2 separate regions of the Homo sapiens genome follow, and region 2 is linked to region 1. The links are contacts of gene promoters, found by promoter capture Hi-C in human tissues and cell types (Jung and others, 2019). All regions are on one chromosome and are shown on one strand. The core of a region is centred on a gene start or on the middle of the fragment in contact, and the rest is flanking DNA. Distances in the headings are between cores, read along the strand shown.

Evidence for each region. Contacts are between HindIII fragments. The study calls those that stand out against the background at their distance.
Region 2: a fragment that was not itself captured here is called in contact with the fragment with the promoter of PIM1 in region 1 in 1 of the 25 tissues and cell types used here (IMR-90 fibroblasts).

The regions. Positions count from the first base shown.
Region 1 is chr6:37,165,111-37,172,708 of GRCh38, forward strand. It overlaps PIM1 (Pim-1 proto-oncogene, serine/threonine kinase), which reads left to right and starts at 5,042. Exons shown (of 6, transcript NM_002648.4): 1 at 5,042-5,547; 2 at 5,663-5,769; 3 at 5,871-5,921; 4 at 6,015-6,381. The coding sequence starts at 5,466. RefSeq lists enhancers at 4,287-4,885, 6,807-7,400 and silencers at 4,511-5,290, 5,551-5,870, 7,060-7,159. The HindIII fragment of the contact is 6,628 bases long and covers 2,851-7,598 here.
Region 2 is chr6:36,806,416-36,814,013 of GRCh38, forward strand. The region is part of intron 3 of CPNE5 (copine 5); the gene reads right to left. Among named protein-coding and RNA genes, the nearest start is that of CPNE5, 29 kb to the right of the region's middle. RefSeq lists a silencer at 4,609-4,777. The HindIII fragment of the contact is 3,033 bases long and covers 1,561-4,593 here.

The DNA of each region.
Region 1 (7,598 bases), core at 3,792-6,291:
TGCGGTGGCTCAGGCCTGTAATCCCAGCACTTTGGGAGGCCGAGGCGGGCGGATCACGAGGTCAGGAGATCGAGACCATCCTGGCTAACATGGTGAAACCCCGTCTCTACTAAAAATACAAAAAATTAGCTGGGCGTGGTGGTGGGCGCCTGTAGTCCCAGCTACTCGGGAGGCCGAGGCAGGAGAATGGCGTGAACCCGGGAGGCGGAGCTTGCAGTGAGCCGAGATCACTCCACTGCACTCCAGCCTCGGTAGCAGAGCGAAACCCCGTCACACACACAAAAAAAGAACAAGTGAAAATTAGCCCGGCGTGGTGGCTCACCCCTGTAATTCCAGCTAGGTGGGAGGCTCAGGCAGCAGGATCGCTTGGGCGCAGGTCTAGGCTGCAGTGCGCCGTGATCCATTGTGCCACTGCACTCCGGACCCTCGGTGACCAGAGTGAGACTTTGTCTCAAAAATAAATAAATAAAAATTAAAACAAAAAAAGAAATATTCAGTTTTTGTTTTGTAAAGACAGGGTTTCCCTATGTTGCCCAGGCTGCTCTCCTGAGCTCAAGCAATCCGCCTGCCTCGGCCTCCCAAAGTGCTGGGATTACAGGCGTGAGCCACCATGCCTGGTCTTTTTAAATTTAGAATGTTTCCTGTCTGGCCAGGCGCGGTGGCTCATGCCTGTAATCCCAGCACTTTGGGAGGCTGAGGCCGCCGGATCACTTGAGGTCAGGAGTTTGAGACCAGCCTGGCCAACCTGATGAAACCCGTCTCTACTAAAAATACAAAAATTAGTCGGGTGTTGTGGCGGACGCCTGTAATCCCAGCTACTTGGGAGGCTGAGGCAGGAGAATCGCTTGAACCCGGGAAGGGGAGGCTGCAGTGACCCGAGATCATGCCACTGCACTCCAGCCTGGGCGAGAGTGGGACTCTGTCTCAAAAACAAATAAACTAAATAAAATAAATAAAAAACTGAGTAAATTTTTTTTAGGAGATAAATGAGTGATGCAGATTCAATACGTCTCTACCTGATTAATTATAAATAGCGTATAGAGTCTTAGTTATACAATCCTAGTTATATAAATGCATTGACTAGACTTACAGACACTTTAAAAAATTGTGTACCGATATCACTTTCAAACTTTCTTCTAAACTTGTTTTTTAAAAAAATTTCGTGACTACAGAACTTGCTGAAGTCATTGTTTTTTTGTTTTTTTTTTTTGCATAAGCATATAGTCCCTGGATGAAGTCATTCCTTTGACAATGACTTGATTAAACCCATATCAGGCAGAATATGAAAACCACCTAAGGATTAATTTGGATATTGTTCAAATTAATATTAATAAATGCTCCTCTTCCCAGAGAACTGTTAGCATAATTGTGGCCTTTTATCCTTCCAAAAGCACTTGTCATTTAATTATTAGGGTGATTTTTCTGATTCTTTGTTAGATTCTTTGAGATAGCACAAATAGTGCTAATTTTATTAAGACTATATTTCGATAAATCAAAACATCAAGTTCCCTACTCTCGAGGAGTAACTTTTGACCCACAACACATCTGAATGTTTACTAATTATCTTTTAAAGCAGTTTTAAGTAAATCAAAGCTGTTTGCCAAGCAAGGTCCATGTTTTGTAACTTCCAGCTGTGAAGCCCCCACTATACAAAGTAGATATATTAAATGTTAATCACTTTAGCTCTAATTAAATATTTAGTCCTTCAAAGACCTAGAAAAAGTGAAAAAGGTTGAAGTTGATACATATTTTTTTTTCTAAAAGGCCTAAAAGATCTACTAGAAACAACTATTTTAAATCACATCTCTCCCCAAATGGTTAAAAATCGAACTATTAATCCAGTAGTTTACCTTTGGTACCTTCTAGGTGTAAGACCGTTTGGGCTGGGCGCGGTGGCTCACGCCTGTAATCCCAGCACTCTGGGAGGCCAAGGCAGGTGGATCACAAGGTCAGGAGATCGGGACCACCATGGCTAACACGGTGAAACCCCGTCTCTACTAAAAATATAAAAAATTAGCCAGGCGTGGTGGCAGGCGCCTGTAGTCCCAGCTACTCGGGAGGCTGAGGCAGGAGAATGGCGTGAACCTGGGAGGCAGAGCTTGCAGTGAGCCAAGATTGCGCCACTGTACTCCAGCCTGGGAGACAGAGCGAGACTCCGTCTCAAAAAAAAAAAAAAAAAAAAAAAGGCCGTTTTAAAAAACATCATCATCATAACCACGATCAACATTATTGCCATCATCATTGCTAATATTTATTAGAAGTTTACTCTGTACTGGGTTATATGCTTTACAAACAAGAGTTTTATTTGCTCCTTACAACAACCCTATGAGGTAGATGCTGTTATTATCTCCATTCTGTCTAAAGCTTAATAAGGTTAAGTAACTTGACCAATGCCTAACTAGTAGCTGCCAGATCCCGGAATTGAAACCAGGCTAACTTAGTTTAAAGCCCTTGCTCCCAACTTTTATGTTCCCGAAGCCCACTTAATTCATTTAAATTTGGTATAAATTGACTTTAATTATGGCCTTTTTGTTAGAATCCATTATAGTCTTCTCTTTTATCAACAAATGTTGGATAAAGTATGCATTCAGGGAGGCTGGGCATGGTGGCTCACACCTGTAATCCAAGGAGGCTGGGCATGGTGGTTCACACCTGTAATCCCAGCACTTTGGGAGGCCGAGGCAGGCGGATCATAAGGTCAGGAGTTCGAGACCAGCCTGGCCAACATGGTGAAACTCCGTCTCTACTAAAAATACAAAAATTAGCTGGGCATGGTGGCGGGCGCTTGTAATCCCAGCTACTTGGGAGGCTGAGGCAGGAGAACCAATTGTTTGAACCCGGGAGATGGAGGTTGCAGTGAGCCGAGATAGTGCCATTGCACTCTAGCCTGGGTAACAGGGCGAGATTCCGTCTCAAAAAAAAAAAAAAAAAGGGCATTCAAGGAATAGGAAGACAAAGTATAATGGAAAAGTAAATGAACAAAAAGGATTTAAAAAAACAAATCCCAACTGTCAGATTAGTGGACAGTGAACCAATGCTCTGAGTTTGTTCATCAATCTGTGGTAGAACTACAATTGTTTCCTAAAGAGTGGAAAGGCTTTGAATAAAAGTGGAGAGGTAGAGAGGGCTCTCCCAGGACAGGTTGATTGCTTCCGCAAAGGCAAAGGGTCTGTAAAGTGCTAGGCGAGTGGGAACAAGTGGGAATAGTTCTGTTTGACTACATTTGAGGGTTTGAGAAAGGAAAGGGAGGGTAGAAGGGATGGAAGTGGGAATCACATATGTTTAATGATGTCTTGTTCGGTGCCAAGGACAGTTTTAGACCCTGATAAGCGGAAAGCTTTGAATACTCAGGAGGTGAATTTGGGTCATTTCATCTCCTCTCTTAGCTGCTGTATGACCCTGTGCCATCCTATTTATGTTTCATTTTCCTATCTGCAAAAAGGGAGTAATTCTTGTTCCCTTGGGTTTTCTCCTAGTCATAAAAAATGAATGAGTTCGGCCACAGTACACAAACAAAAGGAAAATATGTAATATTTTGTAGGATAAATTCATAAAAGTTGTGGAGGATCTGGGCACTTTTATAAAGCAAGCACTGTAGAAAACTTTCAAAGGAAACATTTAAATTCACTAATGACAGCTATAGGGATCCTGATTTTTCCTTTAAATGGCAGGCACTTCAAAAAATTAAAATAGAATGTAGTTAGCTTTCAATTACTTAGGCCACTGACAATTCAATTTATGGATTATATAGTATTTTAATTTACTCATTTCACACGTCGTTATCAACTCTACATGAAGTTTAAAAGGACAAAGGATGCAAGTGGAATTGGTCAGTGTTCCGGGTTATTTCCAAGGGAGGCAGAGGGTGGGGGGTTTCCTTTGAGACAAGACTTGGGGTTGGCCAATAATTGCTGGTATTGCCTGCCTGGTAATAACAGGCTGATGAAAAGGTGACTACAACGTGAAAACTGGTTAAATCAAGCGCACCCTCCCACCCTCGTTTTAGATGAGGAATTTTCCGCCCTCACAGAAGGGGCTGAGGCAGCATCTGGCATCACAACACTAACATTTGCTTCGTGATTTCCTCTTTACCCGGCCCTTTGACACACATCCCTTCCCAGAAATCAGGATTCGCTGGTGCTTTTGCATTTCTAAAATGGGAATCCCGTGGCTGAGCTTTTAGCCGGCCGGAACGACTGAGGGCTGCATCCCTTTCCCGCAGGAGCGGGGCTCCCGCCTCCAGTTCTGTTCCAGGCCTGACTCCTCCACTCCCTCCGTGACTCATGTCCTGCGGATCCTTCGCCCCCGACGCGCCCCCCAACACACAAACCCCCAGAATCCGCCCCCAGCCTACAGCGCGACGTCAGCCCGCCCCAGCCGACTTGGAGGTCTCGGGTCTGAGTCACACAGAAAGACCACCCTCGTCGGCATCCCCACACACAGTCCGACACCCGGCGCGCCGGCCTCCCCGCCTGACACACTAACGCCCGTCGTCTCCGCGCAACTTGTTATGCTCCGGCTCGAGCCCTTGACCCAAAACCCTCAGCGAAACGGAGAGCCGCAGAGCCGGCCTCGGGCGGCCTTTGATGGCTTTGTTATTGTTTGGGTTTGAATCGATACGCCCCTCCCCATCCTTCCTCCCTCGCGGCCCTACACCCAGCTCCCGCCTCCCCTCACGCCCCGCGCCCCTCCCCCTCCATTTTGGCGCCTTTTCCTTCCCGCCACGTCGTGGCGGCGTAGAGACCATTCTGACCGCGAGAGCTGGGCGGGGCGGGGGCGGGGCGCGCCGAGTTATGCAGATCAATCGGCCTCTGGTTGGCTGGAGTAGCGCTGGCAGGGGCGGGGCCGGGGCGCGGCCACAGAGCGCGCGGGGCGGGGGCCGAGGGGAGTCGCCCAGTCCCGCCGCTTCCCCACCCCCTCTCCTCCCTCGGCCGGCCCGGCAGCCCTGCTCCCCGCCTTGGCCTCCCGGAGAGGCCCCGCCCCGTCCCCGCCCGCCGCGCCCTCCCCGCGCGCCCTCCCCGCCGGCGCGCTCCTCCCCTTTACTCCTGGCTGCGGGGCGAGCCGGGCGTCTGCTGCAGCGGCCGCGGTGGCTGAGGAGGCCCGAGAGGAGTCGGTGGCAGCGGCGGCGGCGGGACCGGCAGCAGCAGCAGCAGCAGCAGCAGCAGCAACCACTAGCCTCCTGCCCCGCGGCGCTGCCGCACGAGCCCCACGAGCCGCTCACCCCGCCGTTCTCAGCGCTGCCCGACCCCGCTGGCGCGCCCTCCCGCCGCCAGTCCCGGCAGCGCCCTCAGTTGTCCTCCGACTCGCCCTCGGCCTTCCGCGCCAGCCGCAGCCACAGCCGCAACGCCACCCGCAGCCACAGCCACAGCCACAGCCCCAGGCATAGCCTTCGGCACAGCCCCGGCTCCGGCTCCTGCGGCAGCTCCTCTGGGCACCGTCCCTGCGCCGACATCCTGGAGGTTGGGATGCTCTTGTCCAAAATCAACTCGCTTGCCCACCTGCGCGCCGCGCCCTGCAACGACCTGCACGCCACCAAGCTGGCGCCCGGTGAGAGCACCCCCCGCCTCCGGCCCGGGGATGCGGGGCGGCGGCGGGATCTCCTGGGTGGGGAGCTGGCGGCTCGCGGGCCGGCACTGAGTCCCCGTGCTTCCCCCTTTCCTAGGCAAGGAGAAGGAGCCCCTGGAGTCGCAGTACCAGGTGGGCCCGCTACTGGGCAGCGGCGGCTTCGGCTCGGTCTACTCAGGCATCCGCGTCTCCGACAACTTGCCGGTGAGTGGGCGCCCCGCGGTGGGGAGGGCGCGCCGGGCGGGGGGCGCACGGGCGTGCTTTAGCCCGGACGAGGGAACCTGACGGAGACCCTGGGCTTCCAGGTGGCCATCAAACACGTGGAGAAGGACCGGATTTCCGACTGGGGAGAGCTGGTGAGTGCCCTGCAGGAGCGACCCCCAGGATGAGTGGGTGGGGTGAGGGGCGCCCCCGACTCCCGCCCTAACGCGGCCCCCTCGCCCCTGCAGCCTAATGGCACTCGAGTGCCCATGGAAGTGGTCCTGCTGAAGAAGGTGAGCTCGGGTTTCTCCGGCGTCATTAGGCTCCTGGACTGGTTCGAGAGGCCCGACAGTTTCGTCCTGATCCTGGAGAGGCCCGAGCCGGTGCAAGATCTCTTCGACTTCATCACGGAAAGGGGAGCCCTGCAAGAGGAGCTGGCCCGCAGCTTCTTCTGGCAGGTGCTGGAGGCCGTGCGGCACTGCCACAACTGCGGGGTGCTCCACCGCGACATCAAGGACGAAAACATCCTTATCGACCTCAATCGCGGCGAGCTCAAGCTCATCGACTTCGGGTCGGGGGCGCTGCTCAAGGACACCGTCTACACGGACTTCGATGGTGAGCCAGGCCCGGGAGGGAGCTGCCCAGGTGACTCGGCCCGGCCCGGCCCAGTCCGGAGGCCTCGGCCAGTCTCCCGCGCCAGCCTTTTGTAAAGGTCATTGGGCCGCCTGGCTCGATGCTAGCCGGGGTGGGACGCAGGAGAGCCTCCCAGCGTAGTAAAGCCGGGGATTTTCAGCCAGCTGAACCTGTAATGTTTCTGGCATGATTTTATTCTTCAAGTGGAATTCAGTTAGTTCCAGGCTTTCCCGATGAATAAGAGGTTGTGGGCAACCGGCGGTAGCCCAGATTTTTCTAAAGTCTGACCCAGTTTCCCCGCCAGTAAAAGGATGGGGGCGGGGGAAGAGGTGGAAATTGATGCCGGTTTTGTAATTTTTGTTTTATTTTATAAGGGAGTTAGTTTTCTGTATGGTAGTTTTAGAGCTGCAGTTCTTAACTCCTTTCTGATCTAGGGAAGGTTAAGGAATAGGAACTATATTATTACTGGTGGCTTTTTTTTTTCTTTAGTGTTAAGGGGAGAGAGAGTCAGGAATGAATGTTGTGAAATAAGATCTGTCGCTGGTTTGAAAATTAGTTGGGTGTCTCCGCAGAGAGGATGAAAACCTATCCTAGGGAGGGGCTTGGAGCGGGTTCTTTCAGAAAAGAAGGAATGGAGAGCCTGAGATCAAAGCTGCGGAGGGTGGGTCATCATCTGAGCGGCTTAACCTAACAAACGACAGCCTTTCAAAACTTGTGACTCGGGCTTGTGGTTTATGTTTATTTGCCCTTGGAGGACGCTGGGTTGGGCTGCATTTTTTGTATTTAACAGTTAATGGCTGGCCGGGTCCTCCCATGTTTTTTCTTTCAAGTCTTTGCTGCCCCCTGGTGAGCACCAGCGGCATGGCCCCTCCTTTTTCTTTTACTACCCAAAGTTTGTAAACAGGAATCACGTGGTCTGAAACCAACCCTGCAGCTCTGTCTACCTTTCCAGTCTAGGGAGGAAAGGGTGTGGGTGTCTGCTCCTGCTTGCATCGGGTGGGGAGGAAGGCCTCCCAAAGGGCACCCTGACTTAGGATGTTGTGCAAGCATCCTTGCTTGGATCCTGTCGGCCATGAGAATCTCACCCGGGCTCCTGGGCAGTGGTGAATGCAATTTAAGGATAGTCTATGAGATACCTTTCTTGGTTGTGCAGACATGCATCCCTTCATCCTTCGCAGGCGGTCCTGCCTCACAGGGCC
Region 2 (7,598 bases), core at 1,827-4,326, 360 kb before region 1:
TCCAGGACCACAGACCCCACCAGGCAGGCCCTCCACCTCCCACTCAGAGAGCAGCAGTGCCTTCTCCCATCGCCACGGCAAGCCTGGGTGGTCACAGCTCCCTGCTGTTGCAAGCCCCCAGGTGATGCTCTATCCCTTGTGGATTTCCCCAAGCTCATCCATACCTTTGAGAGAAATCTCTTCATTAAAATCTCTCCAGTTAAACCCTCTGAGTTTCTCTTTCCTGCTGGGACCCTCACTGATAAAATTTATCTCTCACAAACATGTTTACACACATACAATTTCCAACTCAATTGAACGTAAACCAAGACAGCCCCTGCCTCCACCCTATTCTGCTCAGACTCCAGTGTATAACATTCATGTCACCAAGAAAGTGCATGACTCCCGATCATGCAGCAAAGATACCAATGTCCTGTGCCAGCCCTTTGGGACGTGGGATCTCAGCACTGCTGTCCCACTTAAGGGCTTCATTGGGGGCTCTCAGGGGCCATGGCCCCCCAACACCAGCCTCCTCCACATTGTAGAAAGTGGCCATCCTGGCCCCATCCACATAGGTGCCAGAGTGAGGACTGGGGGATGGAAAATTCCTAAATAAGAGTCAGGGTTTGAGGCTCCTAACCTGGGCTTTATGTGGGTTTGTGACATCCTGAAATTGAATGCAAATGTCTGTCTACACATGCCTGCATTTTCTGGGGAGAACAGCCAAGGTTTATATCAGTTTCTCAGAGGGAAGCACGTCTTCAAAAAGCTTTAAGAATCACTGGCCCTAGCTTTGAAGACAGGTCTCAAGGTTTCCCACATAAAGCAGTAAAGTGAAGTCGTTAATAGTGCAGAGTCTACGGCCAGGCCTCTGGGTTCAAATTTTGGCTCTGCTACTCCCTGGTTATGTGACCTTGGGCAAATGCCTTTACCTCTCTGTGCCTCAGTTTCCTCCTCTGTAAAATGGGAATGGCAATTTATCTACATGTTATGGGATTGTTGGAGGCCTAAATGATTTGATTTACATAATATACTTAGAAGAGAGCCTGGGACATAAAACGTGCTCTGTACGTAAGTGATCCCACACTCTGGTTCTTTCTACATCCCTAACTCTGGTTCAGCCATCCAGGAACTGTGTTCATCTCCCAAGCCTTTAAACTCAGCTTTATCTCTAAGATGCTCCCAGTCCTACCACTAACATTTCCTCTTCAGCTCCCACTCCTTTCTGCTCATCTTCCACACCTGAGAGGGTTTTCGTCCTCCATCTAAAGGGGTCTCCCGAAAGCCCTAGCTCTCAGTGGTTGCTCTCTAGATATCTTCTGTATGCGGGGTGAGACTGGAGGCAAATGCAGGGCTGGCCCTTTGCTCGAACAAACCGACTTCTCCATCAGGATCCAGGCCCTACTCTCCCTACGGGCTACCCACAACACCAGGGTCCTTAGTACCCCAGGCCTCAGTTGAAAAAAGGCCGCAGAAAACCTAAGGTTTTCTTAGAGACCTGGGGCCTAGAGAAGAAACTCACTGTGGCCACCAGCAGGGAAGGAAACAAAAGGCAGGAGGAGCCCTTGGGCATGGAAGCCACGTAGTGAAAGTAAAGGAGAGAGGTCGCCCGCTCAGCCTCTGATCATGGACTAGGATGTGGAGAGAAAGGCAGCCCAGGAAGAGGTGCCCTCTCTGTTGCTTCCAGATTTCTTTTCTTTTTTCTTTTTTTTTTGAGAGGAGTTTTGCTCTTGTTGCCCAGGCTGGAGTGCAGTGGCGCGATCTTGGCTCACTGCAACCTCTGCCTCCTGTGTTCAAGTGATTCTCCCGCCTCAGCCTCCCCAGTAGCTGGGATTACACGTGCCTGCCACCACGCCTGGCTAAGTTTTGTATTTTTAGTAGAGGCGGGGTTTGGCCATGTTGACCAGGCTGGTCTCGAACTCCTGACCTCAGGTAATCCACCCCCAACCGTCGGCCTCACAAAGTGCTGGGATTACAGGCATGAGCCACTGTGCTCAACCTGCTTCCAGATTTCTAAAATCTGGGCCCCTTCTTCCTCCTCATCACCCACCAGCTGGGAGGCAGCAACAGACAGCACAAGGACATCTCCCGGCACGTGAGTCAACTCCCCACAAATGCCCATGGCTGCAGAACATTGGGGCCCAGGGCCAGGGAGGGCCCAGGACCCTCCCAGGCCTGCCTTGTGTTGCTTACGATCTGCCTGAGACACCCCCTGAGAGGGTGTACCTCCCTGTTGCTTAAACAGAGTAAATCATTCCTTCCTCCAGATGGAGGACAGAAGGGACATGCAGGGAGTGTCTGTTGCAGAGCTGGTCTCCAATACTGATAGTAACCCTCACAGAGCCCTACTGCGTGCCACGCACTAAGTGTTATCCATAAGGTCATTCATTTAAGCTTCATAACAACCTTCCGAAGCAGAACTATTATCCCCACTTTACAGATAAGTAAATTAAGATAAGGCTCAGAGAGATTGAGAGACTTGCCCAAGGTCACACAGCTAGCAGGCGATAGGAACGGGATTCAAACCCAGGCTGGCTGGCTCCAAATCAATAAGGAGTTGATATAGTCACTATTCAGTAAGAGGCTTATGCTGTGAATGGAGGCTGGGACTAGGTCTGACAGTTTTCAGCCCTGTAGTTTCTCTACTCCCTAGCGCAGTCTCTGAACTTCTGGGATTACTGTGCCTGCTCCCTTGTTAACACTCCCTGTGGGTCTGGGTGGACCCACAGATCAGGTCATAATGTGAGTGTCCCTGACCTAACACCCTGCCCAACCTCTATCCCTCCCCTTGCAGCCCCTACGCAGAGAGAGAGAGAGGAGAGAGAGAGAGGAAGGGAGAGACAGAGAGAGAGAGAGATTGAGAGAGAGAGAGGAGGAGGAGAGAAAGAGTCCTCAACCCTCCTGTGATTTCCTTTTAAAAATGTTAACAAGTTGGGCAGCACTTTGGGAGGCAGGAGGATCGCTTGAACCTAGGAGTTCGAGACCAACCTGGGCAACATAGTGAGATCCCATCTCCACAAAAAATAAGAAAATTAGCCAGGCATGGAAGCACACGTCTGTAGTCCCAGCTACTTGGGAGGCTGAGGCAGAAGGGTCAATTGAGCCCAGGAGATTGAGGCTGCAGTGAGCCGTGATTGTGCCACTGCACTCCAGCCTGGGCGACAGAGCACGACGCTGTCTCAAAAACAAAAAAACAAACAACAACAACAAAAAGCCAAAACAACAACCAAAAAAAAAATCAAATTGACTTAGGACCTGATTTTAGAGCTGGAAGAAACCAAATCCTCTCAATTAACACATGAGAAAACAAAGGCAGAGAAGGTGGGAGGGGGGCTGTTCTGACCACGGTCACACAGCTCATTAGGAAATGGATGCTGACGGGTACCCCAGCCAGTGGGGCTCCCAGCGCTGAGTGGAGCCCTGGTTCACCCAGAAGCCTGTGGACATCCCTGCTCAGGTTTCTCCCTTCCACCCGATCCTCCTCCTCCTCCTTCTGCTTGGTATCCTGACTTCTCAACTTTGAAACACTTCCATACATCCACGATCTCATTTAACCCCCTCCAATGACCCCGTGACAATGAAATTATTATCATCTCCACTTTACCGATGAAAGAACGGAGCTCTTGGAGGCCAGAGAAGCCCTCCCAGAGGCAACCCATGGTGGGCGAGGAAGGGCCGGGACTCTCAGGAGTGAGAAAGGCAGAGCATCCCTGGTGCTCACCACAGCCCCTACCTCAGGCATGCGTGGGTGGCTCTCTGCAAGCCTGAACAATCTTCATGGCCCTGGATTTAGGCAGCTCTTGCCTTTTTACAAATTACAGCTGGATTGAGCTTCGGAGCCATCCCCCAGCTGCAAAGCCCCCAGGGGCTGTGCCGGTGGGATAGGAGGCTGGAGCTGACAGACTGCTGTCTACCTCACAAGCTGCTCACCCTTCCCCAGCCGTAGATCCCTCAATACTTTTCATATATTATTGATGGCTCCTTAATTGGGGATTCTAAAAGCCTCGCTGCAGAGCCCAGCCCTGGCCCCTCATGAATCATGTTCACTAGGATTAAAATTAGAGGCCAGAAAGCTACCTGACTCAAATAGAAACGGAAAAAGGGAATGTGCTTTCCAAGGCTGGCCCTGGGAATAGGAGCCAGGTGGGGGCGCCCAGTGGCTGGGAAGAGTGGCCTGAGATCTGGGGACAGGAAAGGAGGGCCTGGGGAGGCGGAGGAGCACGGAGGATCTGGCCATGCCAGGCCTGCACCATCTTGGGTCTGGAAAGTTCTCTCTGGTTCTGTCACTGAAGGAGTCCAGAATTCTGTGGCCACCCCTCCTCGTTGCAGTGAGGAAAACCAGGCCCAGAGAGAGATGGGGCTTGCCTAAAATTACAGGGAGTGAGCCATGACCTTGGCACCTTTCGTTTCGTAGGCCTGGTGACCTCCCAAATGGCTGCCTGTTTTGTTAAGGCTTCCAGGTAAGGCAGGGCAGAGGTGGAGACAGGGGCCCTGAGTTAGGGAAGCCCAGGCTCTAAAGGCCTCCCTGTTCTCAAGCCTGGTCAGAGAAGCCTCCCTATCTCGCCCAGAGACCAGGGTCAGGGTATGAAACTTTACCAAGCTTAGAATGAAAGACTTCCTGCCAAAAAGCTTAGTTCCTAATTAGCCATTGTTTCAGATAATCTGTTCAATCATCCCAGCTCCTCGGGGAACGGGGAACGACCCTTTACCAATGAGCCTGGCTGCCAAGCTGCCAACAAAACACTCTCCACCACCTTGTCCCCACCCCCAGCCTTCTAGCCCCGGGTCTGACTGTAGAGGGTGGGGGGCCTGAGCAGTCCCCACCCTAAAGGAAGCCAAGCATCATGGAGGGGGCCCTGGGACTTGTCCCCCAGCTCACTCCAAAACATCGATAGCTCCTGCCAAATGGCATCACGATGTCTGAAATGATACTGTCAATGGTTCCTTCCTCCAGATAAAGCATTGGTTTCTTACTTAGGGCTTCTTATAAGAAGAGCCATTATTGAGCTTTTTCTGCAGGCCAGGCACTTTACACGAATTAGCTTATTTACTCCTCACAGTAGGCTTGTGAGCCTAAGTGCTTGGCCAAGATCCCCCACCTGGGCAGGTGGTGGGCCCATTTTTAAACTTGACTTTGGAGTGCACACTTTCAACAGCTCAGCCACAACTGTAGAGTGCACCTGGACACTAACACTGAAAAGCAAATAGATCTATCAGCCACCAGGGGACCTGGCCTAGAACTCAGGGTTTATTAGAAAAGCCAACTCCTTTCTTCAAATGAAATCTCAGGCTCATGTCTAATGTATTACACAGAAATAATGAACACCTCTGCTTGAAGGAGGAAAGGGAGGCAGGGGCTACACACATATTCACGGTGGATCCTGGAGCTGCCACCCTCAAATCCTGGGGATAGAAAAGCACACTTTGGGCTGGGCGCAGTGGCTCATGACTGTAATCCCAGCACTTTGGGAGGCCGAGGTGGGCGGATCTCCTGAGCTCAGGAATTTGAGACCAGCCTGGCCAACATGGTGAAACCCCATCTCTACGAAAAATACAAAAATTAGCTGGGGGTGGTGGCATATGCCTGTAATCCTAGTTACTCGGGAGGCTGAGGCAGGAGAATTGCTTGGACCCAGGAGGTGGAGGTTGCAGTGAGCCGAGATTGTGTCACCACACTCCAGCCTGGGCGACAGAGTGAGACTCCGTCTCAAAAACAAACAAACAAGAAAAGCCCACTTTGAAAGTCAGTGGCCTGGGCAGAGGAGAAGACCAGGGACTCCGACTCGGAAAACCACATTCACATCCCAGCTCTGCCACTTCCTAGCTGTGTTGCTGGGCAAAGCCAGGATCCCTCTGAGCTCTGCTTCCTCATCTGGGTGTGGTGAGGGCCAAGGGAGATAATGGGGTGCTGCTGATGTGGAGACTGTACAGGGTAGAAGGCATATCAGTCACCCTCTTATTTAAGGAGGGGAAGGAAAGGGATAGAGCCTCTTTACAGCTTGCCTGATGGTACTGTTTAATAATAAAAAGAATATTTACAGGTCCTGAGCACAGGCAGGCACTGCTAAGTGATTCTGCCATGTGGTCCCTACCACAGTCCACTAAGCAGGCATTGGGAACCCATTTTATTGATGAAAAAAACTAAGGCTCAGAGAGAGGTTAAGGAAAGTGGCAAAGTCAGGATTCAAAGGGACATCCCAGACAGCACCTCACTGTGTCAAAGCAGGTTTTAAAGCCCTGACCCTAAGACTGTGAGTAGGTGGCCATAGACCCATCTAGTCCCTAAAGTAAAGCTTTGGTCCTGGACTGCCTAACCCTGATCACGGGGAGTCAGAGCCCTGAAAATTCAGCTGCATGACAAGAGCAAAGGCCACTAAAGGCTTTCCAAGTGACCTAAGGCTCAGGAGGGACCTCTCTTTGCAGAGGCAGACTTCTCTGCAAAAAGGAGAGAGTCCAGAAAGCCTACCCCAAGCTTGCCTTGGAGTCCACCTCTTAGAGAGGCCTGCCTTCCGCTTTGTGCCTTAGCAATGCTGATGGTCCACTCATTCCTTTGTATCTTTAGATAATGGTCTATGTGGAATGACCAAGGCCAGGTCACCAGGGATCCTAAATTGGGCTCAAGGCCAGGCAGGCAGAGGGTTATTTCTTTTCAGATTTAAACTCTTGGCATTGAACGAACTGGATCCCCTGTGTTCATGCCCACCACAGTCTTATTCCAAAACCTCCACAAGACTGCAAATTATCTTCCTGCTTCTGCCCTTTCCCCTGCAGTCCACTCTGCACACAGTGGCCAGGGCTGTCTTTCTGAAACATAAACCAGGTTGCATCACTCCCCTGCTTAAAACCCTTAAATAGGCCAGGTGTGGTGGCCCACGCCTGTAATCCCAGCATTTTGGGAGGTTTAGGAGGGAGGATCACCTGAGGTCAGGAGTTCAAGACCAGCCTGCTCAACATGGTGAAACTCTGCCTCTACTAAAAATACAAAAATTAGCCAGGCATGGTGGCGCATGCCTGTAGTCCCAGCTACTTGGGAGGGTGAGGCAGGAGAATCACTTGAACCCGGGAGGCAGAGGTTTCAGTGAGCTGAGATCGAGCCATTGCACTCCAGCCTGGGCAATGGAGCAAGACTCCATCTCAAACAAAACAAAATAAAACCCTCAAGTAGCTTAGCATCACACTTAGATCAGTATCAGAACTCTTTATATGGCCTCTGAAGCCCTACAGGATCTGAACCTGATGACCTCTGTGACCGTATTGTCCACTTTCTTAATTGTTCACACCACTCAAACTACACCAGCCTTCTTTTTGTCCTTGAAATACAGTAAGCTTGTTCCCACCTCAGGGCCTTTGCACTTGCTGTTCCCTCCACCTGCAACACCCTGCCCCCCAGAATGATGCATGGCACCACTCAAGACTCAGCTCCAGTGCCACCAAGTTTGGCTTGGTTCACAGGATCTCCAAGGGCGGCCTCTCCCACTGTGATGGAGTGCCCAGGTCAATGGTAGATTGCGGTTAATATTTCCAGGCATTTTCATAAGCATTACCTTAGTTAGTCTACCCACAAAGGTCTCTTAGCCCCTTTTTATCGATTAGTAAGCTGAGACTTGAGAAGATAAATA